Regions from separate parts of the Homo sapiens genome. Here regions 1, 2, 4 and 5 are each linked to region 3. The links are contacts of gene promoters, found by promoter capture Hi-C in human tissues and cell types (Jung and others, 2019). All regions are on one chromosome and are shown on one strand. Each heading gives the region's core, a stretch centred on a gene start or on the middle of the fragment in contact. The rest is flanking DNA. Distances are from core to core; before and after follow the strand shown.

Region 1 (5,907 bases), core at 1,581-4,080, 230 kb after region 3:
AGCAATTTCACAAAATCTATCAAAATAGCTCAGCTGTTATATTTCTAACTCACTCCAGTTCTCTTACATTCATTTTATGGTGAACAAAGAGACACATTTTTAGCTAATAATGAATAACTTGAGTTTACATTTCAGTTAACATGCTTTTTGGCATTTTTATTGAAATATCACATACCGCATATAAAGGGCAATAAACTTCAGTGTGTAGGTCAGTGACTTTCTGCCTCTGTATACGCCCATGTAACTGCCACCCAGGTCAAGATCTGGGACATTTCCAGCACCTGAGAGGGGCCTCCAAGTCTCTGCCCCTCTTCCTGTTACCCCATGCTCTATTAGTTTTAGTATTGTTCCCATTGACATTATGAGCTTTTTATATATTCAGGACAAAATCCTTTATCTGTCAAATGATATTCGTTTCTCTCAATTTGTTCTTTTACATTTAGCATTGCTTATGGTATGTTTTACATATATGCACCCTTTTCCCATTATAAGAGGGTTTTATATATACTCTATCCTATAAACACAGACACACACACGCGCACACACACAAAACAGAGTCCTTTTCACTCTTTCATTAAAATATATGTTCCCTAACACTGTCATAACACAATTAACAAATAAATATAGTCTGAGGTAGAAGACAGGAATTAGCGGATCTCACAACCACACTCTAGTCACTCATAGCAGCTGAGGTGAGAATTTTTACGTCTCCAAAAATCACAGTAGGAGTTAAATTCAGTCCTCATGTGTCTTTGTAGCAGAGATCTCAGAGCTGGGGGTACTTCGAATCCTGTTGGAGGTGTGAAGTTAGGGTGATCTTGATGGAAATCCCTGCTCTGGCATTTACTGGCTGTGTCTGAGCAAACTATTTAGCTCCTCCAGGCCTCCATTTCTTCATCTGTAAAAATGGGGATTAATGCCACTTTTTCCTCTGTGGGAGGGTGAGGATTATGTGAGTTAAAACATACAGAGTAGCCATTACAGATGGAGGCTCAAAGCACTGCAGATGCTGCTCTTGATAGAGATAACCTTGTGAAAGCGGCATCTGGTCCAAACCCAGACCTTCAAGCAGGCCAAATGCTGTTACCCCCGTTTGACCAGTGAACCACCTAAGTCTCAAAGGGGTTTAGTCAGCATCGCCCAGGTAAACTTGCTGTGATGGTGGAAATGTTCTATGTCATGGTGCCCAGTACAGTAGCCTCTAGCCACATGCAGCTAATTGATCACTTGGAATGTAGCTAGCATGGCTAAAAAGCTGGAGTTTTAATGTTATTGAATGGAATTAAATGTTAATAGTCCCACGTGACTAATGGTTACAGTATAAACAGCACAGTTCTAGACCACTCAAAGGTACCATAGGGAAACAGACCCAGCTGTCAAAATTCCTTCCAGTCTCCCACAGTGCCTCATTCCTCTGAAACAAGAACCCGACCGGGTGGTCTCCACGATGGCTCCAGCAATAAGCCTGCTGAAGGGGGCACACCTATATTAGGTTTGTGGAGAGGAAAACAAAACCTTTATGTAACCTCAGAGTCACTGTTATCTCAGAGAAGACCATGGCTCTTTCCCAGTAAAGGAACCAACCAATGAGCATCCGTCTGCTCCACAGAATTTAGGTTTTGGGGCTGCAGTCCCAGATCTGAGGTAAAGTGGGGACATGCCCTCTGACTTATTAAGGTGGAAAAGTGTGTGACGGTGTGATGGCCTCTACTTAGTGTGCTCAAGGTCTCAGGGATCAGATTTTCCCAGAATGTGAGTGGACATAGTTCATCTCTTCCGTTTCTTATTTTGACAGATGACAGGGGCGGCTTCTAAATTTTTTTGTTGACTATTTGGCATTGCCTAGTGAAACACAAAATTCAGTGTTGAATTAGAGCACTGAGTTCAGGTTTGTTCATTGTTCTTGTTCATTGTTCCAAATCTGAAATGGAGGTTGGGCTAGGACAAACACAGCACAGAATTTTCGGTGTGGGCAGGAGAATGAAAAGTGAAAGAAACAACCAGCTATTGAGCAGGCAGCTGCTGTCACCTCTCCTGACGTTCCTGGCCTGCTGCTGTCACCTCTCCTGACGGCTCCTGGCCTGCTTCCAGCCCTGCCCTCCTCATCCATCCGGGCTCGTGTCAGTTGGCCACAGGGTACTTTTCTGTCACACTCCTGGCCTGGTCTCTGCCCCTTAAAGAGCGGATCTTCTCTTCCATTTGCAAGGCAATCTCAGCATATGGGGGCCTGACCTTTGAGATCTTTATAGGAGAAAGATGCCTCTCTGCTGTGAATAGGGCTTTTGTCCCCACTTCCTGAAGAAGTTCAAGACTTTAAAAGCCCCTTTCCCTAAGCCTTCACCATGGCTGGATGAGACTTCCAGTGCAGAAGTGTGTCACTAGGACTCTGAGCAAGGAGGACGAACCATTGAATTGCATAGAAGTCATCTAGGAGCAGCCTGAAGTTTGGTATCGGTTTAGTTATGATATGGGGCACATGGTCTTTTATGGGTGACTTGAGAACCTGATTCTTAGAATGAAGGTAGGTAGCTTCCTCTGTGAAGATGGATTCTGAATGACAGAAACCCAATTTAAAAAAAAATACTGTATCACTTACTTTATATCAGACACTGTTTCAAGTTGTTTTCAAATATTAAGTCACTTACTGTGACTCCACTCGTTTGAGGGAGAGGAGGTCGATGTTGTTATTACCACTGCTTTACAGATGGGGAAATGGAAGCTCAGACTGAACCATTTCCCTGAGGTTCCACCGATAGCAAATGGCAGCAGCAGGTTTCAGTCCCCGCCGTCTGGCTGCACAGTTTTTGCCGGGAACCCCCAATCTTGCAGCCTCTCCATCTTGCAGGCCAACTGTTGAGATGCAGACCGCTCAAAATGTGAAACATAAAAACCCGCTTCTGACTCAGGACAGTGAGAATAGCACATGTCAACACTGCCAATGCTTTCCCTGTTTCTCAATCTTTCCTTAGGAAAGTTACTTTTGACCCTGAGTCTATTTTGTGTTGCTCAAAGGATTTGTACTTGCTAAAGGCTGGTGCAGGGAGGAGTGCTGTGCCCCTGCTGACAACCACTGCACCTCCCAGGCTGAGATGGTGACAGCAGACGCCCCGGCCAGCCTCCCCAGGCCACCTGCCTGCAGGAAGTACAGTCAGAGCTGCCCGCGGTGAAGGGCCAGGAAACCCCCGCTGTTCTTGAAGCCTCAAGACCCCAGATATCCCACCTTGACAAGTGGGTGAGATGCTGCCCACTGCTCAGGCACCACAGAGTGCCACGAGGCTCCTGGGCATGTCCCCAGCTGGTAGGACTGATGGGGATACCAGGAATAAGAAGATAAAATTTGGTCTCAATGTGAAATGCTAGCAGCTATGAGATGTTTTTAAATGACTAATGAGTTGTCTGCTGCTTCAGCCTTGCAAATGGTGTTTTATGTTTTTTTTGTTGTTTCTGTGTGTGTTTCTTTTTTTTTTTTTTAAGAGATGGGGTCTTGTTCTGTCACCCAGGCTGGGGGGCAGTGGTGCGATCGTAGCTCACTATAGCCTTGACCTACCCCTTGCCTCAAGTGATCCTTCCACCTCCGCCTCCCAAAGTGCTGGGATTACGGGCATGAGCCACTGTGCCTAGCCACAGATAATTTTATACAATCACCATGTCAGAGGATAATCGATGGCCTATATACTTTTTTTTTTTTTTTTTCAGAGACAGAGTCTCGCTCTGTCTCCATGCTGGAGTTCAGTGGTGCAATCTTGGCTCACTGCAACCTACACCTCCCAGGTTCAAGCAATTCTCCTGCCTCAGCCTCCCAAGTAGCTGGGATTACAGGCATGCGCCACCACACCAAGCTAATTTTTTTGTATTTTTAGTGGAAACGGGGTTTCACCATATTGACGAGGCTGGTCTCGAACTCCTGACCTTGTGATCCACCCGCCTCAACTTTCCAAAGTGCTGGGATTACAGGCGTGAGCCACTACGCCCGACACACTTTTATGTCAGTCTCACCCTTTTATTATTTATCAGCACCCATTCACTTCTAGCTGTCGACACTGTCAGCCTCTGCGTATCTCAGCTAAGAGATCCCAAACATCCACCAGGCACACACCAGTGTTTGTTCACAAACAGATTCCCCATGACAGCCGCCCAAATGAAATAGAGAATGCTCCGTTTAATTTAAATAGGCCAGCAACTTCAGTTCCTTTTGGCCCCTTCTGATTTCCTGGACACATAGGCTGACCCTTATCTTTACGGCAGTGCTGGGTCCTGCTGTAATCTTTTACTGACCGCTGCCCTCTCCTTCTCCCCTCAGAACAGATGCCTTAGGCGTCACATTTCACTTCAGTTCTTCAGAGGTTCCTGGGTCAAAAAGGTCTCAGATGAGGAGAGAAACCTGGAAACTTGCACACTAGTTTGGATTCCATTGTTAGCTTGCTAGTTTCCACATTTGTAAAATTGGCAAAATTATCTGTGTGAAGTTATAATGCACAAATGAATTATTTGTCATATCTCTCTGGAAAATATGAAATGTAAGAAACTATTATCTGATAAGTATGGATTTTCTTTTCTTTTTTTTAATTCCAAAGATAGATTTTTATTCTTTTTCTCTGGTCCAGGCAAACAACCAACCAAGTAAGAAAATCCTAGTTCCTTGAACTATTTACCAAAGTTTTTTCTTATTTTTATACATCCCTATTGTTATCCTTTAAACTCTCCTTACAGTGAGACATTTACAGCAGGATTTATTAAGCTAGCATAAGCTAGATTTAAGCTTTTAGGAAGTGTGCCTTCAATGGCACTGATTTTCCGTTTTCATTAGCTGCCGAAACAGAAACATTTTCCCCATTGAACTAGTGGGATTCCTTAACCTTTTGTGGATGGATTTCGTTGATGGAATTTTATGTACTTCGATAGCTTCTTATCTCTGTTGTAAGAGTTTTCTGATGCAAGTGCCATGGAGAGCCCTTATTTTTCCTAATTTGTCTCCCCACTCTTGTAATCACTCTTGGACCTTGGAAGCATTTCTGGAGACTGCGGCATGCAACCCTCAGCATGGGGAACAATGATCCTGACATCACCTGGTCCTTGTTTGATCCGACCAGGCCTGGACCAGTGCTCTCCATCACTTCAGAGCTGCCTCAGAATGCCAAGAGCTGACTTAACATTTGTGTTATCAACTGGTTCTCAAGGCCCCACGGCTCTGCCTTGCTTGTTGCCTTTCTCTTTGTGTTCCTCTCCTCTCCACTCTGCTCTCAGATGTCATTAACTTATAGCTCCCAATCTCTTTGCATAAAGTCTCTCCTTGGGTGAATGTCAAAGATGCTACTTCCTGTAACTCTAAGTGCATCTTCTCCTTGGGGAAGGAAGGATGCACCCACCAGCTTTCTTTGTCAGTCTTTTTCCCTCCTATGGATCAGGGTAAAAAGAAAAGTATAACTAATGACTACTTTCTAGTTATATTAGAGTTAAACTCAAAGATAATTTTGTTGGCAGGGGGCATTACTTAAGAAAGTTAAATACAGTTTTAAATATTGGCAATAAAAGGATGCCCTTCCAGACTTTTCATTTTCCCTCTGGTCTTTGTCATTTTCTTGAAAATGACAATCCATATAAATTTACCACCTACCTAATGGAAAACACAGCATCTGAAAAAAAAATTCTCTTTTTTTCTGGTAAATGCTTTTTAAACTGACTGATTCCCTTTTGGGGCGTAAAGATGTAAGCTTGGAAGCGATCTGATTCCGGGGTTGTGGGGCAGTATTTAAAGATTCCTGTATGCACAGCTGTTCAGAACTAGGGGCTGAATTTTAGCAGTCATTCAAATGCAGAGTCATTTGTCAGCAAATGATCAAATAAATAGTTTTCTGGATGGGTTTTTTCCTTCTCACTGAATTAGTGTCATTCATTGCCATTTGCCGC
Region 2 (5,676 bases), core at 2,484-4,983, 160 kb after region 3:
GAGTACTCATGATGTAGTCACCTCTTAGAGGTCTCACCTCTCAACACTGTTGCATTGGAGTTTAAGTTTCCAACATATGAACTTTAGGGGACATATCAAATCATAGCATGGAGAGACCAAGATAAATGAGAAAGAGCTGGATCAAGCTCTTAGGGAAGGACACTGACACAGGCTTCGAAGACCTGTCAGTACAGATATTGGACAGAGTGGGATCATGTGGACACAGCCAGTGGCTGCTGGAGAGCTTTGTCATGTGGCAGCACTGATCATTCATGGCCTGGGGCCAGCAGATGGAGGGAACCTGTGAATAACAGTATGGCCGAAATATTAGGCTCTTTCTCATATTAGAGAATTAAGTTGAAGGCTTCATGCCTCTGCTTCTCACTGGATTTCCCCAAAACAAGTGATTTAGTGTTATATTTTTTTCAGTTAATTTATCCAGATGGTTCATAGGTTAGAAATATCATTTTAGAGTTCCAGTACTCTAAAATAGTTAAATGCTGAGCTCTTTCCACTCTGGGTAATGGAGAAAGTCCAAGATTGTATGTATCTAGGAGGGGCCCATGGCACTTGGTGAAGCCCGTAGAGCCAACCTTTACTCCAGAGCTGTCAGCTCCTCTGCTCCCCAGGCTTCTTAGTCACATTCACCACCTAATGCATCCCCCTTAGCTCTCATTTTACCCTGATCCCTCCCTTAATCCTTCCATTAAGCCACTTCTTTGCATCTTTATTTCTTTTCCCTTTCTATAGCTGTCCTCTAATTTCTTTTTAATGCATTTATTTCCCATCTTATACTTAAAAATATTTAAGGTGGTCATTCAGAGAGATACAGGGTACAACTACATTAAAATGAAATAGGTAGCTGGACATGGTGGCTCATGCCTGTAATGCCAGCACTTTGGGAGGCCGAGGTGGAAGGATCGCTGGAGCCTAGGAATTCGAGACCAGCCTGGGCAACATAGTGAGACCTTGTCTCTACTAAAAATAAAAATAAAAAAAATAGCCAGATGTGGCTGTGTGCACCTGTGGTCCCAGTTACTCAGGAGGCTGAAGCGGGAGGATCACTTGAGCCTAAGAGGTCAAGGACGCAGTGAGCTCTGATCATACCACTGCATTCCAGCCTGGGTCACAGAGTAAGACCCTGTCTCAAAAATACAAAAAACAAAGACAAAAATAAAATAAAATAGGTAAGGAAATCAGACAATGGGAGAAAAGGAATAAGTTGTGTGTGGCCAAGTGTATGGTTACTGAACAAATGAATACTGTGTGGTCTTCTGCAATTCCTAGAGTCCCCTGACTTTGGTTCCAAGCTCCTCTGCTGGCACAGTAAAGACAGGAATATAATCAATTATTGTGATTCATATTGAAGGCTAGGAATAGATTGGTTGTGCGGGCACATGCTTGCTAGTTCTTGAGACTGAGAACAATTTATCCTGTGGATCCCTGCGAAGGAAACACTCTGGGTAGAAAGTTTAGAATTAAGGCTCGGGTTGAGGTAGCTCTTTGGCATTTTTCTGAATAAGTGAAACAAATTACAGACTCAGTTGTAGGGTTTTTTGTTTTTGTTTTTGTTTTTTTGTATTGGTGTATGGGCAATACTGGTCGTGAATAGTTTTAGGAAAGTCATGGATGAACACTACTTCAGCATGAGTCTGAAAGTTGTGTGTGTGTGTGTGTGATGTCTGTAAGAGCCAAAAGTGCTGCTGTGTGAACCCTGCTGTCTAGTCTTAAAAATTTGAGTTGACAAAGAAAAAGGAGACATTGATCCATCTTTAATTTGAAAGATGTTTGCGTGTATCACATAATGTTAACACTTAAAACAGTTGGCAAACTTGAATATGAATCCCGTGCCAAGAACTTACACATTTTCTGCTTTTCACTTAAGAATACAACCCCACACCACCTCATTGTATAATATCAGTTTTGCCAATTAGGTCCCTATTGATGCCATACGTCTCCCTCACTGCCATCCAGCTATTCATTTCAGGGCATGTTTTTTGAAAAGTGCTAGTGACCTTTGTCCATTTTTATTGTCATTGCAATGATAATGCCAGCCTTGCAAAATTTTCTGGCAGGAGAACGTCAAACAATGTGAGGAGAAAGAAGCGAAATAGGAAATATCCTTTAAAATGAGTGAGGCAATGAACTTAGGGAAAAAATAATTCAATTTAATTTCCCTCCAACTCATTCCTCACGTCTGTTCCAGACTCATCCAACATTCACTAATACCCTCTCTTCTCATTACCAGTCAGTTTCTATCTTCTTCAACCCCAGGTGCTTCTACAAAACACAAATATCAGCCAGACTCAGATATCCAGATTCCACCCAGTGATGGGTTCTCAACAAAAACCAAACCAACAGCAGGCAAGAAAGGCAAGCCAAAGGGTCGCTCACTGTATTCAGACCCCATTACTCCCTCAGTGTTCACTTAGACCATGGCCGTGCAACTTAGCCACCTGTGTTGCTGCACAGCCCACAGCACTAGTGTCTGTTTCTGTGTTCTTAGTTTGAAAATTGCCTGCCTGTGGGCTGAAAGTGCTCCCGATTTTAGCATTTGTTTTGAGCCACATCTGCCCACTCGTCCTGCAGGCAAAGCTGTTTGCAAGGAGCCTGATCAAAAGTGAATATGCCAGAAGGAATTCTCCCCTCAGCCCCCAGTGCTGGCATGGTTTCTTCTCTCTGTAGGTGCCTGTTAGCTTACAGGATTCTTCTTTGCTTTCCTGTTCTTTCAGAACAGTCAGGGTCCATCCAGCTTTTCTCATTGGGAAATTTCCTGGGTTCAATGTAATTGCTGTCTAATGATTTTCTCATTTTCCTGAGATGACTGAATGGTTGAATCAGACCAAGGACATGTATTTGATATTCTGCTCGTTCTTACAGAGCAGATGCCTTCCATTACTGAATTTTGGGGCAGTTATTTAGAAAATAATAAAACCGACAGCTAAGCACTGATTTTTTTTGTCTGCATCTTGCATCGTTGCCAGCTTTACTGTAATTATGTCATTCAGAGAAAGATTCTAACCATTTCCTTTTCCTGGCCCCTTTGTGTTTCAAAAAAGCAAAATTGTGGCCATATTTCTAAGCGGATAAGTCACATGCAAGTATAAAAATGGCCTTAGATGAAGTCATTAGAGATTTTTGAAAGTTTGTTGAGTGAAATCTTGAATGGAATGGCAAAGCAAAGTAGTTCTGCTGACAGGATTAATGTACAATTAGTGGAGGTGACACTAAGCTGTTATCAATGGGAATTAATGAAAAGCCCAAGAAGAATGGAAGAATCGTTGGAAATGTATTACATTTTTGTGGTATTTTTCTCTGAAAGAACATACACAAAGTTGTAGTCTTACCTGCTTAATAAATCAGTGGGAGGGGCATAGAAACATCATTAGTAATGGCCTAAGGGTGACCCTAAAATGATGTGTGTGTTATTCTTGGGATGTTAGCTGCAGCAAAGAAGCTCAAATGACCTTAAACCCTCCCAATGGTTCATTTAAAAGATTTTCACGTGTTTCCTGCTGATCTGTAGCTCTAGCTCAGAGATACCCAGTAGAATTTTCTGGGAGGATAGAAATACTGTATATCTGGGCTGTTCAATACCATAGCCACTAGCCACATGTGGCTGCTGAGCACTCAATGTAGTGCAAGTGGGAAGCCAAAATAATAATTTAACTTTAGTTAATGTAAATTTACATAGCCACGTTTGGGTAGTGCTGTCATTTTGGACAACATAGCTTTAGATCTCTGGGAGACCCAGAGATCCCTGGTGAGGGCCACATTATAGAGATTCAAACTTTGGTTGGTTTAGGGGGCAACACAGGCAAAGAACTGGTGAAGTTCCGATTTGTAATCCCAATCTGATTTTTGACCTGACAAAGTTATCTTTCCCCACTCAGAGAAAGCAAAAACATTTGGAAGGGCAGGGGATCCACCACATACCCCCGTTTACTTTAACATCTGCTGCTGCATTTGACAGAAGGGGCTGGCCAGGGTCAGCTAGGGTCAGCCAGGCCCAACAGGGTCATCAAGACAGGGTTAGAGAAGATCCTTTTTTAGATTTAGTGTCATTAGTACTTGACTTGATTTCATATTAAAGCCCTTTAATGAAATGCTTATTATCTGTAATGAACTTTTGTTTCCATGCATGATACTGACAAGAAGCTCTTGAATTCATGGCCTGGTTGTTAAAATTCATGATGTTTTCAAGCAGCAGTCCTAGAGTCTGCACCAGCGGACCGAGCAGGAGTGGAAAGCTCCCCTGCAGCGGACACCACAGAACTTTCACCTTGCAGATCCCCCTCAACTCCTCGGCACCTCCGCTATCGACAGCCTGGAGGTAAGAGCTCAAGAGGGACTCAGAAATAGAAACGTGAAAAATGATTTCTAGCTTCTGAACCTTTCCTTTGCCTAATTGTTTCACTGCCAAAATAATTTTTTTAGTCTCACTTATTGAAAATTAATTGGAAGCAAATACAGTCGGCCCTTTGTATCTGTGGGTTCCACATCCATGGGTTTCATATCTGTGGATTCAACCAATCACCCATCAAAAATATTTGGCAGAAGAATAAAGCTTCTGTACTGACCATGTACATACTTTTTTTCTTGTCATTATTCCCTAAACATTATAGTATGACAGCTATTTACATAGCATTTCCATTGTGTTAGTTATTATAAATAATCTACAGGTGGTTTAAAATATACAGGAAAATATGCATAGATTATATTCAAATACTACACGATTTTATATCAGGGACTTAAGCATCTGTGGATTTTGGTACCTGAGGGAGATCCTAAAACCAATACCCTACAGGAAACAAGGGATGACTGTAATGTTACTGTAGGACCAAGTGGTGGAAAAATAAATGATTAGAGAAGATGTCATTAGTCTAACCAACATTTGTTTAGTTCCATCATTGCATTGCATTTTGTGAGGAGTAACGTGAATCAAAAGGCTCTTTCTTTAGATGTTAGCTAGCTGAAGAATCTCAGTGCTGGGTTTACCAAAATGTTCCCAGTCTCTGATATATTACCATGAGTCCCAATGTAGTCTGTATAAGTGGACTCCTCTGGGCATCACAATCTGGGGAGACCCTATTAATAATATTATTTCATCTAAAATAAGGTCCAGGTACATGGGACCCCAGTCATCATTATTGCTAGTGGCAGAAACTGGCATATGTATTTTGATATATAGTTAAGAAAATTGTAAAGCATTACTCCATAATTTGTTTGGGAACATAATAAATGTCCTCTAATTGGAGAAAAAAAACTAATCAGAACAAAAGGTAGAAATATTTTAATTATCTCCCATTTTCCCCACTGCTCAAATAAATATATCCAAATAACAGTTGTTTTGAAATGTTTGCTTTTCTCTTCTTAAGCCAATTATTTCAAGTCAGAACAGAAAATTACACAATTATGAAACCGGATTCACCCCAAGTAACCCAAATGAAAAGGCTTTTTTTTTTGGTTTGGAGACAGAGTCTCACTCTGTTACCCAGGCTGGAGTACAGTGGTGCAATCTCGGCTCAGTGCAACCTCCACCTCCCAGGTTCAAGTGATTCTCCTGCCTCAGCCTCCCGAGTAGCCAGGATTACAGCCGTGGGCCACCACGCCCAGCAGTTTTTATATTTTTAGTAGAGACGGGTTTTCACTTTGTCGGCAAGGCTGGTCTCAAAC
Region 3 (6,001 bases), core at 944-3,443:
ACATAACCTTCCGTGGTAGGAAGTGATGTCAGACAAGAGGTTGTGAATATTTCATGTGGTTCAAATGAAAAGCACATTTAAGGAGACAGAGATGGTAACTGAGACATTGCTTATTGAAGAAGAGAATCTTTCACATCTGAAAAAACTCAAGTGCGTTAGAAGGTTTGACTACTCATGGCAAAATAGTTTTTGTGCTGATTTCACACTCTTACTGGTTTCTACTAAAAAAATGGAGCTTATCAACCACACAGGTGTCTACTCACTTACGGTTCTCACAGCTGGGATTGGACCACAGAGAAAGAAATAAAAGGCCTCCTGAGGCAATCACCAGCTCCTCTGCATCTAGAATCTGGCTCCAAAATGTTGCCTGCATTTACTTACTGTCTCTGTACTTGTGTCTTCTCTGAAGAACAATGCAAACTTCCAGCTGGGTTAAACCCAATTTAGCACAGCACTGTCCTTTAGATATTTTTAAAAACGTAAAGAGAAATGACCACTGTTCTCACGCTGTAATTTCAAAATGGCAATTTCCCTACTATATACTTGTTAAAAGTGAAAATTTTTTAAAAAGGTAAAAGGAAAAAAAAACCCCACTCAGCTGCTCAGTGAGGCAGAGTTAAAATATTCTGCAGAAACAGCACTTATGAAACAGGCAGAACCCCTGGGGCTACCAATTCATGAACACACAACTGGCAGTACAAGACAGGTGTATTGTCGTAGACTCATCACCCAGAAAAGCATTATTATTTACTTTTAACAATAAACATTTTATGATGGCACTCCGTTTTAGTGATAAATGACTGGGGAAAATAAAAAATGTGTATAGCAGAATCAAATATAGGCCCTCCCCGGGGGTTTCACTGGCTTTCTCTCACAGCTGCTGGCTACATTATTTCTTTTCCACTTACATTTTTACAGCATGGGGTTGGGGCGGGGGGGTGGCTCTTGGTTTTCTGGTTGTACCTGTCAGATTTGTTAATCAAATGAATCCAGTCCTACAAACGATGAGCCTGTGACAGCTGGCCTTTGGGGTTGGATTCTGCCCTGGGCAGCAAAGTGTCCCTTATTTGGGTATTTTTTTCCAGGTTGAAAACTCGGCACTTAAAATTTAGCATCTTACCACTGTGAAATAACAGGCATTCCGAAAGAACTTCGGCATCTGATGCCTTTCCGGGAACACTTGGGCCACTCTCCTTAACCTTTACCGGCAGTTTTAAATACTACAATGCAGGTACAAGCAGAAAAGCCAAGGATGCGGGCTATGCAAAGCCACTCTGTGACTCTACCTACTGCCATGGGAACGTACTTATGGATGTGGCATGTGAGTGTGTGTGTATGTGTGAGTGGGTTTGTGAAAGTGTGTGGATTCGTGCGAATACGTGTGTGAGTGCTTTGTGTGTATTTTTGGATGAATTTGTGAATGTACATGTGTGTTCATCTGTGTGTGTGTTTGATTATCTGCTTATGAGTCTGTATGATTGTGAACGTGTGAGTATATGTGTGCTGTTTGTGTGACTGTATGAGTGTAATGTGTGTATGAATGTATGTTTGAATGTGGGTTTGAGTGAATGTGTGGGTTGTGTGTGAATGTGTGTGTAAGTGAGCATATCACTGCGTGCATGTGTGTAGCTCCTTAAGTGTGTATCTGAATGTGGGTTTTATTTTTGTGCGCGGGAACGCACATTGTGGGTGTATTTGTCTATATGCATTTGTGCGTTGTGACTGTGTGTTGAGTGTGAGCGTTGTGAGAATGTGTATTTGTGTGTCATGAGTGTGTGCGCGTGTGTTTTTGTGCATATGTGCGCGCATTGTGTTTGTGTGCATTTGTGAGTGTATTTTTGTGCGTCTGAGTGTGTGCATTGTGGATCTGGGTGAATGTACTGGTCTGCGTGTGTGTGGGTGTGCGTGTGTGTGTGCGCGCGTTGTGCGCGAGTGTGCGAGCGCGTGTGAGCGGGTGTGTGGTGCGGCCGGGCGCCTCCACCTCCCTGATCCGCCCCATCCCGGCGGGCGCCCGAGCAGAGGCAGCGGCCCGGGCCGGGGCGGGCGAGGGAGGGACGCGAGCCGGGGCAAGCGGGCTGCGCCACCGCCGGCGCCGCGCCGACTTTGCCCTTTAAATCGGTCTCCAAGCCGATTACAGCTGAGCTCCCACGTGACGTTTTACCTTCTGTCTCCCGGAGCGCGTTGCCCGAGGACAGTCCTTCCCCGGCTGCCGCCCCAGCCCGCCGCGGGGGCTCGGCTCCCGCAACTTTGGGCGAAGCGGCGGCCGGCTCGGGCGCCCTCGCGGGGCCGCGCTCCACGCGGGCGTTGGGGGCTTGGGGGGCTCCGGGGGCTCGGCCGGGAGGGTGGTGGTTAGGGCGGAGAGCGTGCCTCGGCCCCAGCCCGCGCCCCTGCCACCGCGCGCCGCGGCCTCCCGAAAGCGGGCGGGGTGCCCTGCGCGCGGCGTGGGGAAAGGGGGCGCCCTTCGCCGGCCGGGACCTGAGCGGTCGCGCCCTCGAGGGAGCCAGCTGGGCCATGGCCGCGAGGCAGGGGTGAGACCGGCGGCCACCCGTGAGCCCTCCGCACCCGCACCATGCAGAAGAGCGTGCGCTACAACGAGGGGCACGCCCTGTACCTGGCCTTTCTGGCGCGCAAGGAGGGCACCAAGCGCGGCTTCCTGAGTAAGAAGACGGCCGAGGCGAGCCGCTGGCACGAGAAGTGGTTCGCCCTCTACCAGAATGTGCTCTTCTACTTCGAGGGCGAGCAGAGCTGCCGCCCGGCGGGCATGTACCTCCTGGAGGGCTGCAGCTGCGAACGAACGCCCGCGCCACCCAGGGCCGGCGCCGGGCAGGGAGGCGTCCGAGACGCGCTGGACAAGCAGGTACCGCGCGCCTTCTCTCCGCGGTCTCCCAGCCTTGATCGCCGCACTCCCTTGCCGTCCTAATCCGGGGATCAGGGGTCGGGGGTCGTGAAAGAGTGCGGGGACTATGCTCCGAAATCCCCCCGCGTCACCAGTGGCGGGACATCTCCACGCTCCTTCCGATCTTCATCCAGGGATTCTCCCATCTCCATACCCCTCCACCCCACTGCCAAGTGATCAGTCAGAATAGTGGCCCGACTTGCTTTCATTACCCTGGTAGAGGTCGAGTCGTTTCAGCTTCTCTGCCAACCATCTATTGCTTCTCTAGACCTGGCTCGCCAGATTTTTGTCTGGTGACATGTATTGACACCTGTTGGGTGTAGATTGGCAAGACGGAACTAACTTATTTGGAAAAGTTTGATTTCTGCCATACCCGGCTGGCGCGTGTAGATTTCTTTGCCTGCAGATGTTTGACCACTGGTTGGGCTGGGAACAAGCGGGGCTCCCAAGCCGGACAGACACTTTCTGTTGGTCATTTTCAATCAGTCTTTGTGATTTCGGTCAGTTGGCCTTGCTAACATTTGACCTGCTGGGTGTAATTATGAAGGTAAATGTGTATTCATATTCCTCAGGATTAATATTTGGTAGCCACATTCTTGCTATGTTTAAAAATGTGGGCATTTTTAAAGAACGCTTCTGTACTTTTAAATGAATGCTTTGAAAATGAATGCGACCTTTTAATTCTGGGTCATAATTTTATTAGTTTTGCTGTGTGCTCATGGTCGCGGGGTGGGGGAGAAAAACCCTTTAAGTCTTAGTGATCCCAGCCCCTCATTCCTGCAAACACAAAGTTTGTATGTTTCCAATCACCGTTTGGTTATTAAAGTTAAAGCAGACTAATTTTATGCCCCTAATGTTCTCATTTAGCTTCTCAATCCCCACCTTGATATGAAAAAGGCTGATTGTTTTTGCTGTTGCGTAAAAATATTCGCAGCTGAATTTTCCATGTGAGTTCAGATCAGACAGCATCTACCGCACACCACAGAGGCTGTGGGAGGTGCTAGCAATGGAGTGATCCGTAAGATGCCTACCTAACCCTTTGGGGCTCATAAAACAATGTGTAAAATTAAGAGGAGTTAAAACTAGACCGACCGGAAGTTTGAGTTGTTTTCACTATAAATCATTAACAGACTTAAGTGATTAAACTTGTTATAACACTTATAAATCTGAAAGTTTAAATATGCTCTTTAGTTTCTGAGGGCTTGTTCAGAGTCATTTGAAAAACTGATTTCCAACTTTATAGATATAGATACTAGAAATATAAACATAAATTTCAAGTCATGCATTTTAGAATTTAAATTGGGAGAAGAGTTTTGAGGAAACATTTTTTTTCAGGAATATATATAAGTAACATTCTATTGGTGGGATTTTTTTTAAGGTATGTGTTCCAAGGCCCCGCAGGAACCAAAATGAATAGGTTTCTAAATGTTATTATGTCTAAAGTAGAATAGGGTATTTTAAATTACTCAGGATATATATCATTTACTTAATCTCAAATTATTTGTTTTCTTCATATTTATATTAATATAAGATAACCACTTTTGATTTTTTTTTTTTCAGTTAGGGGTGGGGAGTTGTTACCTGTTACAATTCATATGGCTCTCTGACTTGCTAATGTTATATGGAAACCAACATTTTTCTACTTGGAAAATATCTGGACTGTAATCTTCAAGACTGTTTTCTTTCTTGCACTTTAATAAGGAAACATAACTTCCAAATAGTTTGACTTTCATGCCACTTTCTAATGGTTGTCCTAAATAGGCCATCTAATGAAAAAATTGTTTTCCCTTTTTATGACCATGCAAATGATGAGTATTTCTCAGTCATTTTATTCATCTTCAAGAGGTTAGAAATTAGAATCTTTGGTGTTTGTAGATAAATCTGAGATGTAGAGAAGCAAGCATTCCAGAATGGATTAGGAGTTGGGCTGGGAAACCTTCCACATTTTGTCTTGCATTAGATGTGCTGCTGTGAGTTGGGTTAGCTTAGCCCACTGATGCTTTTCTCTGGCACTGCCAACTGGGTGTGTTTGAATAATTAAGAAGAAACTGTGAAAATAAGAAACAAGGAGAAACATTCTACCTTAAATCTACAGTTTATCCAGTTGGTTACCTCTCAGCTAATTTATGTTGCTGAGGTGCTTAGATCATCCAGACACTGAGACACGAAGGATCTGTGGAGGATGTGAGGAGATGAGCACATCCCAAGGTTTGCTTCTTTCTCCTTATATGCTTCTGGAGCTTTCCATATCAATATCTCCCTCAACACTATCAACACAGTTGAAGGTTAGGGCTTGAAACAGGACTTAGTGAGGCAGAGTCATTTTTCTTCACCAAGTTTCCGTGTTATTTCTTTAAGCACATCTCTTAATCTTTTCTCTTTTTTTCTGTTAATGAAATCTCTGTTTCCTAATATGTAAAAATTAAGAATTTGGCTAAGTTGGTTTCCAATTACCTTTCAATAATGGCATCTTCTATTTCTAAGGTTATGACAGACAGGGTGAGCTTTTTGCAGTGTGGAGAATGTGAAAGACCATTTCACAAGATTCAGAGATTACCAGTGTTTGTAATAAATACTGCATCTGAAAAGCCGAGGACAAGCAGGTGATTGAAGTGGACATTCTGATAAATTAGTTAGGTCAGCAGATGTGCAAACCTATAGTAACATCATTGCCTGAGGCAGAGACATTCTTATTACTCACATTGGAGGGCGACATATTTATTGTAATCCCCTTGACAGTTACAATAGTTGATGTAATTATTGCTATAAACTGCCTCTAAGCATTCTTGGGAGCTTAAAGTCCACATATCCTTCAATGATTTTTATGCTTATTAGTTGTGTTTTTAGGTAAGTTACAAGAAGAAAACACCCATTGGTTTGCTTCCTGTAAATAACAATTCAAAATAAGTTGGTTGACAACAACAAAAAAATCCGTTTTTTTTTTTTTTTTACACTTGGACTTAAATTGTTTCCAGTTAAGCAGAAAAAAGAAAGTCACTTTCCAAATATGCTTAGATTGTAGGAATATTTGCATTGCTCTATTTTTTTCATAGTGTTCTCAGATTTCACTTTGATGAGTCTTTGGAGGATTGCAAGGCTCTCTTA
Region 4 (6,068 bases), core at 1,867-4,366, 180 kb after region 3:
TTAAACATTATTTCACTAAAGACCAGTACTTTAACAATGGTCCCAAGTCCTATTTTTAAACACACACACACACACACACACACAGACACACACATGCACACACGCACACTCACTCACATTTTGCTTGGAATTAGAATTGTGGAACTGCAAAGCTGCAGCTTTCACTGGTGTGAGTACACTCCTGAGCCTGCGAAGCAGCTAGAATGCTCATGGCAGGTGGGCTTTGCATTCTCTTCCTGGAAACATGCCACGCAGCAAGCTAGATCACAGAGATATCTTTGCTGTGCTTTCCAAGCAGACCCAAATCCTGTTCCAGCTGGCCTGTCCACCTTCTTCCCTGATGGTGCTGCACTGCCGAGTTCCTTTTCTTTGCACTTTCCCTTCCCAGGCTCCCTGCAGGCTGCTCTCTTCTATTACTGTCTCTTCTCAGCAAAGGTACAATGTAGTTGATTATGCCTCACATGGCTTAATTGCTGCTTGATTACATTACTGTTTCATCCATGTCAGGGCCAGGCAAGTAACCTAAGTAGGGATGGAGAGGTGCTGCCATGTTTGAAGGACACAGCCACTGCCCAGCCCCTGCAGATTGTTGCCATGAGGGGCTGCAGGACTAGGGCTGTCAGATGTGTTTTCTCTGGTTTTTTTTTTTCTAGCCAGAAATCTTGATATTTATGTGAAATTTTCTGTTTTGAAATGTTGGAAGTGAATTCACACTCTTTAAAAATACTGTCCAGGCCAAACACAATACTTTCATGGGCCACATTTGGCTGTGAGCCACCAGTGTGTGACCTCAGATTTACTGTAATCACTTCCAGCTGGAGTTGTAGGTTGATACAGCTAAGATTTCCAGAGACACTCCTAAATATTAGCAGTAAACTCCTGAATCTCTTCAGTGCCACTCCCATGTATCTTCTATTCCTTTTACTGGGTGATTTTACAGAGAGTTGATCTCTTCTCGGGCACTGTGCTTGACCACATTTGCTTTCAGAGGGTAATCTTATCTCAAAGGTCTGAGCCTCCCTCACTATGTCATCCCCTCACTATGGAAGGGGCACAGTGGGGACCGTCTCTCTTCATCTCACGTTATAGATTCTGAAGCAAGTGTGGCATCTGGAGTGGTGAAGGGTCTTGCCCAGGTTCTCATAGTTATTGAGAATGAGCCTCAGATCTCTCCACTGCTAAACTGCTGCTTTCTTTGCCCTGATATAGCCTCTAATCCATATTAACTTCAAAAACAGCAAGAGCTTGGGAAGCTTGAATTGCTTAATTTTGTTATTAACTCTTGCTTCTGCCTTTCTCTGCAGCACGTCCATTTCTTTCCGTCTTTTTCCCACCTCTGTATCCACCTAGCATTCCCCTAAGTGATAGACACAGCAGTTTGGGGACTCCAGAGAGATGAGCCTGGGGGAAATTAGTAGTCTGTGGATGGGTTCTTAGTTGACCAGCAGTTAGCATTGAAGGATCTGTGATTTCATTCACAGCATTGTGGAAATCAGGGCCTTAGTACAATGGTATGATCTGGTTAGAGGAAGCATGTATTTCTGTATTGAGAATTGGATTAAATTTGCAGTGAGATATTGATTACTGTGAATTAAGTTGATGTCACATATATACTCTGCTGTCTACAGTCTCAGGATTTGTGAGAACACTCAGCACTGTTTAAATAGCTTAACAGCATGCATAAACTTATAAGAAAGGCACAGAATCTGGGCTTTTTCCAGGGTCTAGATTACAAGCTAAAATGTAAAATTTGGGCAGGAATTACATATCAATTTTCTGTTTCAAAATCAGAAGCTTAATATCATGTAGGTGTTGTACTGCATTGATTTCCAATGGAGTGTAGATGGGGTAGAATAAGAACAGCCGGGGACTTCCTCAAAATATTCCTGTCCCGGTGGGGATTCTGAGTGGCCTCCCAGAGGCAAGCAGTCCAGAAGAGAGATGTTATTGATGGCAATGTGCTGCACGTGTGAATGGTGTGAAAACAGAAGGCTAAACATCACTGCTCTGCTATCTGCCAGCCCTAAAAAGAACTATGCTCACTTTCTGAATGCAATTCTCTATCTTCTGGTTAGTCAGAGGATGATGGGAAGCAGGCTGCCTGTGTAACCTGTTTTAGCAATGACATTCAGAAGTCTAAGGTCAAAATGTTGGCTGCATGCAATGTTTCTTATATGGGGCCCTCACCATCTTTTCATTTTGGTGTAGCCCACCCTTGCCTTATTTCTTATTCATCTCCTCTTTTTCTGTATCATGCTGTCTTTTTACCTTGCTAGGTTCTCACCTTTTGGAATTCTGCTCCTATTTCATGGAGATACATCCTCTTGCTAGGACAGGCTATGTGCTTTGCAGCACCCAGTGTGAAATGAAAATGCAAGTGTCCCTGTTGAAAAAATTATTAAGAATTTCAAGAATTCTTATTAAGAATTATTAAGAATTTCAATTAAGATGCAGGGCATCTAACCAAGCATGAGACCTTCTAAGCATGGGCGGTGTGTGACACAGGCTGTACACCAAGAAACTGGCCCTGCCTCTTGCAGTCTTGTCAGGAGTCCAGCAGTCTCTTAATGCATCCAACTGGGTCCTGTAGTAAATTGCTCTCAGGATGTGGCCTCCAGTGCATTTCTAGGATTATATCTTGGTTCTGTAGAAGTTTTCTGTGGTGAAAAATATATTCGTAGTATCCCTTTATTTTAAAGACGAAAAAATCTTAGGCTGGGAAAGACCAATTAGAAAGACAAAAGCTATCTGAACATAGGACTTCTGATTCTTTGAAGAAAATACACATTTTTTATTTTTTATTTTTATTTTTTTGAGATGGAGTCTCACTCTGTCGCACAGGCTAGAGTGCAGTGGCGCAATCTCCACTCACTGCAGCCTCTGCCTCCTGAGTCAGGCGATTCTCCTGACTCAGCCTCCCAAGTAGCTGGGATTACAGGCGCATGCTACCACGCCTGGCTAATTTTTATATTTTTAGTAGAGATGGGGTTACACCATGTTGGCCAGGCTGGTCTTGAGCTCCTGACCTCAGGTGATCCACCCACCTTGGCCTCCCAAAGTGCTGGGATTACAGGTATGAGCCAACACACCTGGCCTGAAAAAAAATACAAATTTTTTAATAATAACATACAATGAAATACTTTTAACAATGCAGGAATGCTGAAAATAATCTCTGATGAGTCAGAAAGACTCTCACTATCTAATGATGATTCAGAGTAAGCATAAAAACAAAAATTATCATCATATAAGATTAAAAAGGGCAGGCACGGTGGTGCACGCCTATAATCCCAGCACTTTGGGAGGCCGAGGCGGGCGGATCATGAAGTCAGGAGTTTGAGACCAGCCTGGCCAACATGGTGAAATCCCATCTCTACTAAAAATACAAAAATTAGCCGGACGTGGTGGTGCACACCTGTAATCCTAGCTACTCAGGAGGCTGAGGCAGGAGAATTGCTTGAACCTGGGAGGCAGAGGTTGCAATGAGCTGAGATAGTGCCACTGTATTCCAGCCTGGGCGACAGAGTGAAAATGTCTCAGAAAAAAAAAAAAAAAGACTAAAAAAATTCTGTTTCCTGGACTTTTTGGTTATTTGAATCTTTATAATAAAGGCAATAGGGCAAATAAACAGTGGTGGTCATGTCAGTATTATGCAAAGCTGAAAATTATTATGCAGGAAAGTTAGAAATAGTAGACAGCCTCAAAAATATACAATGAAAAGTGGAATTTCTCAATGAACTTTTTTGGGAGAAATAACCAATGATAATGTTGTGATTATGTAAAATTTCATCAGCCTCATACATTAAAAGGATGTGACAAGCTTTTAGTTAAAAAAATTTTCAAACTGTTATGTCAAAGATTAAATGTGGTAGTCAAAGTAATCTATGGAAACATACTGCTTTTATATGCTTGGTGGTGGAAGTCAGCACAAGTAAACCAAACATTAAAACTTCTAAGGTCTATGGTAAGGGAGGAAGGGGCTTTCAATCTGCCAGGAGAATATCCCCTTAGACTGTAGGTCCTGTGTGTGTTCCTTATTTATGCACCAGCTGTGATTAGTACAGGTTGTGCCCTTGCCGGCACTTACAGCCTATGGCTTCACAAGTGCTGGGAAGACATAAGGCGATAACTTGATAACATGTAGTTAGCCTTTTTAATTGATTGTAAATACATAGCAGTTATGGGTCATTTTTATAGAGGTGAAGCTCCCAAAGCTTCACCTACATCTTGCAAACCATTCTCCTATGCTGCCCAGATGGGCATTTCTGTATATAAATTGAGTGGTTGCACTTATTATCAACATAGCAATGACAACAGTGATTTAGAGTTATACACTTCAATAGGCATACAATATACTGAGCAATGGTCCAAGTTTTACATATGTTAACTTATTGTGAAGTAGTTAATATTACTATACTCAGGTTCCAGCAGAGGATACAGAGAGTTAAGTAAATCACCTAAGGTCACTTAGGTCACACAGGGAGTAAGTAGCAGATTTGAATCCTGTCATCTGGCTCTTCTAACCACCACCCTACTCTGCTTGAATTTCATCAGTACTTTATTGCCTTGGCCCAATGCACACTTGATGTTTAAAAAATAAGGGAAGAATGCCAGACTCAGTGGCTCACGCCTGTAATCCCAGCACTTTGGGAGGCTGAGGCAGCGGGAGGATCACCTGAGGTCAGGAATTCCAGACCAGCTTGACCAACATGGAGAAACCCAGTCTCTACTAAAAATAGAAAATTAGCTGGGTGTGGTGGCATACATCTGTAATCCCAGCTACTTAGGAGAATTGCTTGAACCTGGGAGGTGGAGGTTGCAGTAAGCCTAGATCATGCCATTGCACTCCAGCCTGGGCAACAAGAGTGAAACTCTGTCTCAAAAAATGAAAAATAAAAAAAATAAGTGAAGAAGGGGCCCACAGTCTAACCTGTCACCACCCTAACCTCTGCCTTATACATATAAGGCATAGCTGGAACCTTGTTATTTGGGTTTCTGTAGTGCTGCCATTTTGTTTAGGAAGGACATGAACCTTTCTCTTGCATGGTCTGGTGGTTTTAAAAATATACCACAAATTCTTTTCTACTTCTCCGTTCAAGAAATGGTGCTAAATTTCCCTTCTCTTTAGTGTGGGCTGGACTTAGTAACTTGCTTCTAACAAATAAAGCGGAAGTGATCGTGTATGACTTTGGCACCTAGGTCATCAAAAGCTTAGCACCTTTCATCTTGGTCAATCTCTCTCTTGGATCACTTGCTGTGGGGAGAACCAGCTACCAAGTCATGAGGAGAGTCGCACAGGGGAAAAAACTAGGAACTAGGTCTTCTGCCAACAGCCATGTGAGTGAGCTGGGAAGCAGACCCCGTAGCCCCAGCACAGCCTTCAGATGACTGCAGCCCTAGTGGACACCTGGACTCCAGCCGCATGGCCCTGAGCCCGATCCACCCAGCTAAGCCTCCGAATTCTTGTCTTAAACAAACTGTGAGATAATAAGTGTTTGTTGTTTGAAGTCTCAAATTTTAGGGTGATTTGTTAGGTAGATACAGATAACTCATACAGGTGGTATCACAGTAGCCAGTAAACTTTGACCAAATTATTCATAATCACGTTAAACGTAAGGGGCATATTTTCATTTTTTGAAAGAGAAGCATTTCTGGGCATCCCCTGTGGAACACAGCACCCTGGGCTTATACTCAACCAAATGTTTTGAAATTGAGGGAGTATATTTGAAATTAACATGTAGCTTAAATCTGCCTTGTATTTCAAGGTTCCCGAACAGTCTTTCTCTTCTCTCATCACCTGAAGTGCTCTGAATTGAATAGACTCATTTTTCTCTGCTGTTTGAGAGCCTAGAGCAGTTTGATTTTAACACAACTGTTGCTTAGCAATAAGAAGGAACTTAATGGTTCCAGTCTATTCTGCAAACTGAGAGGAGCCTCCCCTGTGTAGCTATTGTCTGTGTGTAAGGCTGAATTTTAAATTGCAATTATCATTTGAAGATGAAATTGAAGCTGGCCTATGTGACACATTCTATGTACCCTAGCAGCTCAGTTGCCCAGGGAGTTAGACTGGC
Region 5 (6,164 bases), core at 747-3,246, 130 kb before region 3:
CACCACCAGTGTTTAAAAGTTTGTTCTCATGCTTAAAATAGATTAGAATAAGAAATGTTCATTTGATGATATTTCTATATATTCTCCAAAATTGCTCATAAGAACATTTTCATTTTTATTACTTAATGTCCTTCACATGAAGTGCCATCTGGTAAATTATTTTTTTGTTAATGCTAGGGACATTTTTTCTCTCCATGTGCATACTGTGCCTGTTTACAAAAAGATTTGAAGCAATTTATTGGCCTTTTCTGACAAACTGCCAGGCTTCCTGCTATCAGCCAGTGGCTGCTTCCTCTTTAATTCCTTTTTGTCTTGGCTGCCAAGACAGCAAGAGCTAAACTCAAGGCTCAGGTGTGGAAACAAATTTGGCTTAGTTTTCCCCTTCGCTTCTTTTATGGGAGTATTTCTCTAGTGTCATTCTTAGAACAGCTGCATCAGAATCTTGGCGGTGCTAGTTAAAAATGCTACTTACTAAGCCCTTTCACACATCTTTTTAATTGGAATCTCCAAGGTGGTACACAAGAATTAGCATTTTAAAAGCTCATGCTAAGCTTAAATGTAAGAATCTACTGTATGGCTTGTAATCTTAGTTTCATGTAATTGTTTCATTAGAATATGTTATTGTAAATCACTTCAAATGCTTTTTGTACTCAATGGAAAAAATATTAAAATCTAGCAGAATGAGATATTTGCATAAGATTTAGCTCCAAGCTGTATCTGTAAATAGATTCTATTATCAATTGGCCATTTAGAACACTAGGTTTAAATCTGTGGATTCCATAAATATTCATTGAGTGCCCACTATGTGCTATACAGTGTGCAAGAAGAAGAAGTAAATGGATGAAACGCTATAAACAGACAGGAGGTTAGGAATTTTTTTTTTTTTTTTTGAGATGGAGTTTTACTCTTGTTGCCCAGGCTGGAGTGCAGTGGCATAATCTTGGCTCACTGCAACCTCTACCTCCTGGGTTCAAGCGATTCTCCTGCCTCAGCCTCCCAAGTAGTTGGGATTACAGGCATGTGCCACCACGCCCAGCTAATTTTTGTATTTTTAGTAGAGACGGAGTTTCACCACATTGGGCAAGCTGGTCTCGAACTCCTAACCTCAGGTAATCCACCTGCCTCGGCCTCCAGAAGTGCTAGGATTACAGGTGTGAGCCACCGCGCCCGGCCTCCAGAATCTTTTATCTGAATACTATAACCTCACATGAATCTTTTCCTGAATAAGAAGCAGATTTTTTTAAAAAGTAGAGTTTTGGCAAACACATACATTTGTTTCTAATGGATATATCTGTGCATTATGATATGTGTACTCATCGATGAAATATTTCTAGACCCATATTTCCAAGGATCATTAACATCCTTGAATGCATCACTGAGATAAGATCTGTTTATTATCTTGATGAATATAAACTTAAATCTCATCTAGCCTTTTAGACTCAGTAATTAAGTTTTAGAAAAGCAATGAATTATTAAGTCTCATTAGAAAACAGTTTGAAAAAAGCAAAACAATTGGCCTCTTCTCTCAGCATAATTTATTTCTATTAAACGTTGGTGATTAAGCGTTGATGAAAAGAGATATTTACTCGATGTGGCCCATAGCTAACAATTTTCATGCCATGCTACTTACACAAACTCCCTCTTCTGACACCCAGCTTCAGGGAATTCTGTGTACTCAGAGTGGCACGAGTGTGTTTTTCTTGAAAGAGAATTGGAAGATAATAGACATTCAAGTACTTAGTAACTTATTTGTTTGCCCAACTTAGTGTAATTCAGAAAATATTGAGCACTGACTGTGGAGTATTTGTACTCTATACAAAATATATTCTTTATGGACAGAAAGAAAACATCTTGAATCAGTCCACACCTTCTAATTAGTTGTAAATACCAGTACTAAAATCCACATGATAAGTGAGCACTAAATGAGTAAGTTGTTATGATTTTATTGGCATTAAAAATGTCATCTTATCAATATCTCTGTGCTTTCTTTAACTGTGTCTAGCAAACACTAGTTATCTTATTTCATCTTTTTCATGGGAAATTATTTTATGAATTTAAGGCTTGTTCCTTTAATTAGCTTCCTCAAAGTCACCTGAAGGTTTGGTTTGATTTGGTTTTAAATGCAAATCCCAGGCAAATCTTCTGATTGAAGATCCCCTGGAGATAGATACTGTTGTAGTAGGTATGATGAAGGAGGCCTTTAGACACTATTTTTTTAAAAAAGACTTTAATTTTTCAGAGCAGTTTTAGGCTTACACCAAAACTGAGAGGAAGGTATAGAGAGTGTCCATCTACACTTACCACTGCCCCTGCACAGCCTCCCCCATTTTCAGCATCCCCCACCAGAGTACTCCCTTTCTTACAATTGATGAACCTACATTGGCACATCATTACCACCCAAAGTCCATAGTTTACATGAGGGCTCATTGGGTAATTGATAAACAAAGTAAATTTATTACAGTTCTGTAGACTGGGAAGTCCGAGGTCAAGGGGCTACATCTGGTATGGGCCTTCTTACTGCCTCATAAAATGGCAGAAGGCATCACATGGCAAGGGGGCTTACTAGAGAAAACCAAACTGGCTTTTACAACAGACCCACTCTAGTGAAAGTAACCCACTCCTATGATAACCCATTGATTCATTACCCCTTAATCCATTAATCCCCAAATGGATTAATCCATTCATAAGGGCAGAGCCCTGATGACCCAGTCACCTCTTAAAGGCCCCACTTAATACTGTTACATTGGGAATTCAATTTCAATGTGAGTTTTAGAGGGGACAAACATTCAAACCACAGCATTCTGCCCCTGGCCCCCACAAATTCTATGTCCTTCTCATATACAAATACATTCATTCCATGTTTATAGCCCCAAAGTCTAGAGTCTCATCGAATCAGATGTGAGTAATGCTCAAAGGACAATTCATCTTGAGGTAAATTTCTTACAGCTGTGAGCCTGTGAAATGAACGTGTTACCTACTTCCAAAATAAATGGTGGGACAGGTGTAAGACATTCTCATTTCATAAGGGAGAGATAGGCAAGAAGAAAGGGGTAACAGGTCCCAAATAAGTCCAACACCCAAAGGAAAAACTAAGCCTTGAGGCTCCAGAGTAATCTTCCTTGGTTCCATGTCTTGCTTCCTAGATACACCAGTGTGAGGATTGGATCCCAGGGCCTCAGGCAGCCCCACCACCTAGGCTTTCCTGGGCTCTCCCAGGCTTCAGTTCTCACAAGTAACAGTCAAGTGCCTGCAGCTTTCCCAGGCTGGAGCTGAATGCTGGCAGTTCTACAGTTCTGAGATCTCAGCGAGGTTCTGTTCTCTCTGCTCCACTAGACATTACCCCACTTGGGGTTGTCTGTCCTGGCTCTGGCTCTGACCCCACATTTTTGCTTGGCATTAATCCACGAATGGATTAATTCATTTATGAGGGCAGAGCCCTCATCACCCAATCACCTCTTAAATGCCCCACCTCTTAGTACTGTTACATTGGAGATTAAGTTTCAACTTGAATTTCAGAAGGGTCAAAATTTGAACCAAAGTACTGTTTATTTCCTTTTCCTGTCTTATTGCATTAACTAGTACTTCCACTGCAGTGTTGAAAAGGAGTGGTAAGAGGTGACAGCTTCCTATTTTGGCTGATCCTAGTTGGAAAAGCTTCAAGTTTCTCACCATTAAGTATGATGTTAGCTATAGGTTTTTTTGTGAATATTCCTTATCAAGTTGAGGAAGTTCTCCTCTATTCTTAATTTACTGAGAGTTTTTATCATGAATGGGTGTCGGATTTTATCAAATGCTTTCTATGCGTCTGTTGATATGATCATGTGATTTTTCTTCTTTAGCCAGTTGATGTGATGGATTATGTTAACTGGTGATCAAATGTTCACCCAGTCTTGCACACTTAGGATGAGTCCTACTTAGTTATGGTCTGTTTTTCTTTTTATACATTGTTGGATTCATTTTGCTAATATTTTATTGAGGATTTTTGCATCTATGTTCATGAGAGATATTGGCCTGTAGTTTTCTTATAATGCCTTTGTCCGGTTTTGGTATTAAGGTAATGCTGGCCTTATAGAATGTGTCAGGAAGTATTCCCTCTGCTTCTATTGTCTGAAACAGATTATAGAGAATTGGTCTAATTTCTTCCTTAAATGTTTGATAGAATTCACCAGTGAAGCCATTTGTGCCTGGTGTTTTCTATTTTAGAAGGTTAATACTTATTGATTCAATTTCTTTAATAGATACAGGCCTATTCAGATTGTCCCTGTCTTTTTGTGGGAGTTTTGACAGATTGTATCTTTCAAGGAATCAGTCTGTTTTATCTAGGATATGAAATTTATGGCCATAACACTTTACAGTATTCCTTTATTATCTTTTTAATGCCCATGAGATCTGTGGTGATGTCTCCTCTTCTATTTTTAATATTAGTAATTTGTATCCTCTCTCTTTTTTTCTTAGCCAAGCTAGAAATTATTAATTTTCTTGATCTTTTCAAAGAATTAGCTTTTGGTGTTGTTGATTTTTCTCTATTGATTTTCTATTTCCAATTTCACTGATTTCTGCTGTAATCTCATCATTTATTGTCTTCTGCCTACTTCAGATTTAATTTACTTTCCTGTTTCTGGTTTGCCCTTGAACTCTTATTTTTAAGAATCTCTACAAGTGACTCTGATGCACAAATTTAGGAGCCATTGTTTGCATTTTAATTTCTAACATTTTATAGGAAGAAAAACAGGATCAGAGAGAGATTTTGTTTTGCATGAGGTTATAATGTGTGCAGTTTATAAGGATGCAGCCTCTGGTTATATTGGGTTCCCCTGTATTCATCTTATTGATTTATCTGATTAATTTTATCCATGATGACAGATTAATCTTCCTTTGACAACCTTAATTATGTGTAGTTTTCCTAGCTATAGTTAACATTGAGTGAAATCATTTGCTCTGTTAATTATTTTTCTTTGCAGTTCTTGGGACTTTCCCACAAAGTGGACTACTAGCTATGTTAGAGGATGAGTTGCCCAGTCAGCACAGTGTGGATTTTCTTTGAAGGAAAATACCTGTGTCCTTCGTAAGTGTCCTACACATGCTTTATAGACAGGGCCAGGGAACACTGTCATGTGAGCCTGTAGAAATTTAGAATTTTTCTGGATTGTTCTCTTGATTCTCATCAGTGTTTCCACGGAAATTGAAAGATTGCTACAGTGGGTTTTGCTTGATTATATGTGCAGTTTAGTATTATAACTTTTATAAATAAACTTTAAATACTGTAGTGTGATCTTATTGCAATCATTAGAAGGAAGGATTATATGAGAGAAACTTTTTTTTCTATTATAATACACATGCTTCTCAAGTTAAAATGGGACTATGCCCTGATAAACCCATCATAAGTCAGAAACATCATAAATCAAAAATGCACTTAATACTCCAGTAAGCTCGTTATAAAATTTTAAAATAATAAGTCAGGGATTGTCTGTAATTTTACTTATGCTAATAAATGTTTTTCATATTGCTAGAAGAAGGCTAGTTATTTCTGCCTTGTCTTAACAGAATGATACGATATAATTCTTAAATGTATCATTTGTGATTTTTAAAAATAACATTTGTTTTTCTAATTACACAAGTAATGCATGTTCATTATGCAAAATTTTAAACTCAAAATTTTTTAATCACTTGTAATTCCACCACCTGGAGATCATTGTTGTTTAGGTAGATGGCTTTCCAGGCTTTTTTAAAGTGCACATATGTAGTGGTAAATCATTTGTAATTTCATTCCATTTCTGAGTTATTGTTTATGTTTAATTAAATACAAGACAGATTTACTAATTCACGCTTTTTATGCCTTTTAAATACCATATGGTGCCTACATATCTTTTAGTAATTGGTATTCTCTTACAGTCTTTCCTCTACTTGGACTTTAGTTTTTTGGGGTGTTTTTCTTCCTTATACCATCCTTCTTAAAAGTTAGAGTACTTTGTTAGTTAGGAGATTAGCTATCTTTTGTAAAATGTATGTAATATCCAAAAAAAAAAAAAACAAGCTTTGACTTAGACATCCATTTTGGACAGAGTTCAAAGTTTTTAGCAACCTGAAGTGAATGGGAACATCTTCAGTTTCAGAAAGCACACAAAATAAACTAACTCTTAAAACCTCTCCAGGTTGGGCGTGGT

Evidence for each region. The method cuts DNA at HindIII sites, captures the fragments that hold promoters and counts their contacts. A contact is called where the count stands out against the background at its distance.
Region 1: a fragment that was not itself captured here is called in contact with the fragment with the promoter of RASGRF2 in region 3 in 2 of the 25 tissues and cell types used here (dorsolateral prefrontal cortex and hippocampus).
Region 2: a fragment that was not itself captured here is called in contact with the fragment with the promoter of RASGRF2 in region 3 in 1 of the 25 tissues and cell types used here (hippocampus).
Region 4: a contact is called between a fragment that was not itself captured here and the fragment with the promoter of RASGRF2 in region 3, in 2 of the 25 tissues and cell types used here (aorta and dorsolateral prefrontal cortex).
Region 5: a contact is called between a fragment that was not itself captured here and the fragment with the promoter of RASGRF2 in region 3, in 3 of the 25 tissues and cell types used here (heart left ventricle, hippocampus and thymus).

What each region holds. Positions count from the first base shown.
Region 1 is chr5:81,186,036-81,191,942 of GRCh38, forward strand. The region is part of intron 18 of RASGRF2 (Ras protein specific guanine nucleotide releasing factor 2); the gene reads left to right. Among named protein-coding and RNA genes, the nearest start is that of CKMT2, 44 kb to the right of the region's middle. The HindIII fragment of the contact is 4,810 bases long and covers 426-5,235 here.
Region 2 is chr5:81,119,435-81,125,110 of GRCh38, forward strand. RASGRF2 (Ras protein specific guanine nucleotide releasing factor 2) reads left to right here. Exons shown (of 27, transcript NM_006909.3): 16 at 4,208-4,333. Among named protein-coding and RNA genes, the nearest start is that of CKMT2, 110 kb to the right of the region's middle. The HindIII fragment of the contact is 6,979 bases long and covers 245-5,676 here.
Region 3 is chr5:80,958,170-80,964,170 of GRCh38, forward strand. RASGRF2 (Ras protein specific guanine nucleotide releasing factor 2) reads left to right here and starts at 2,194. Exons shown (of 27, transcript NM_006909.3): 1 at 2,194-2,857. The coding sequence starts at 2,570. RASGRF2-AS1 (RASGRF2 antisense RNA 1) reads right to left here and starts at 2,738. Exons shown (of 4, transcript NR_105015.1): 1 at 2,612-2,738. RefSeq lists an enhancer at 2,297-3,018. The HindIII fragment of the contact is 17,436 bases long and covers 1-6,001 here.
Region 4 is chr5:81,140,353-81,146,420 of GRCh38, forward strand. All of the region lies in intron 17 of RASGRF2 (Ras protein specific guanine nucleotide releasing factor 2), which reads left to right. Among named protein-coding and RNA genes, the nearest start is that of CKMT2, 90 kb to the right of the region's middle. The HindIII fragment of the contact is 3,186 bases long and covers 1,524-4,709 here.
Region 5 is chr5:80,825,676-80,831,839 of GRCh38, forward strand. All of the region lies in intron 20 of MSH3 (mutS homolog 3), which reads left to right. Among named protein-coding and RNA genes, the nearest start is that of RASGRF2, 130 kb to the right of the region's middle. RefSeq lists a silencer at 212-412. The HindIII fragment of the contact is 5,695 bases long and covers 1-4,844 here.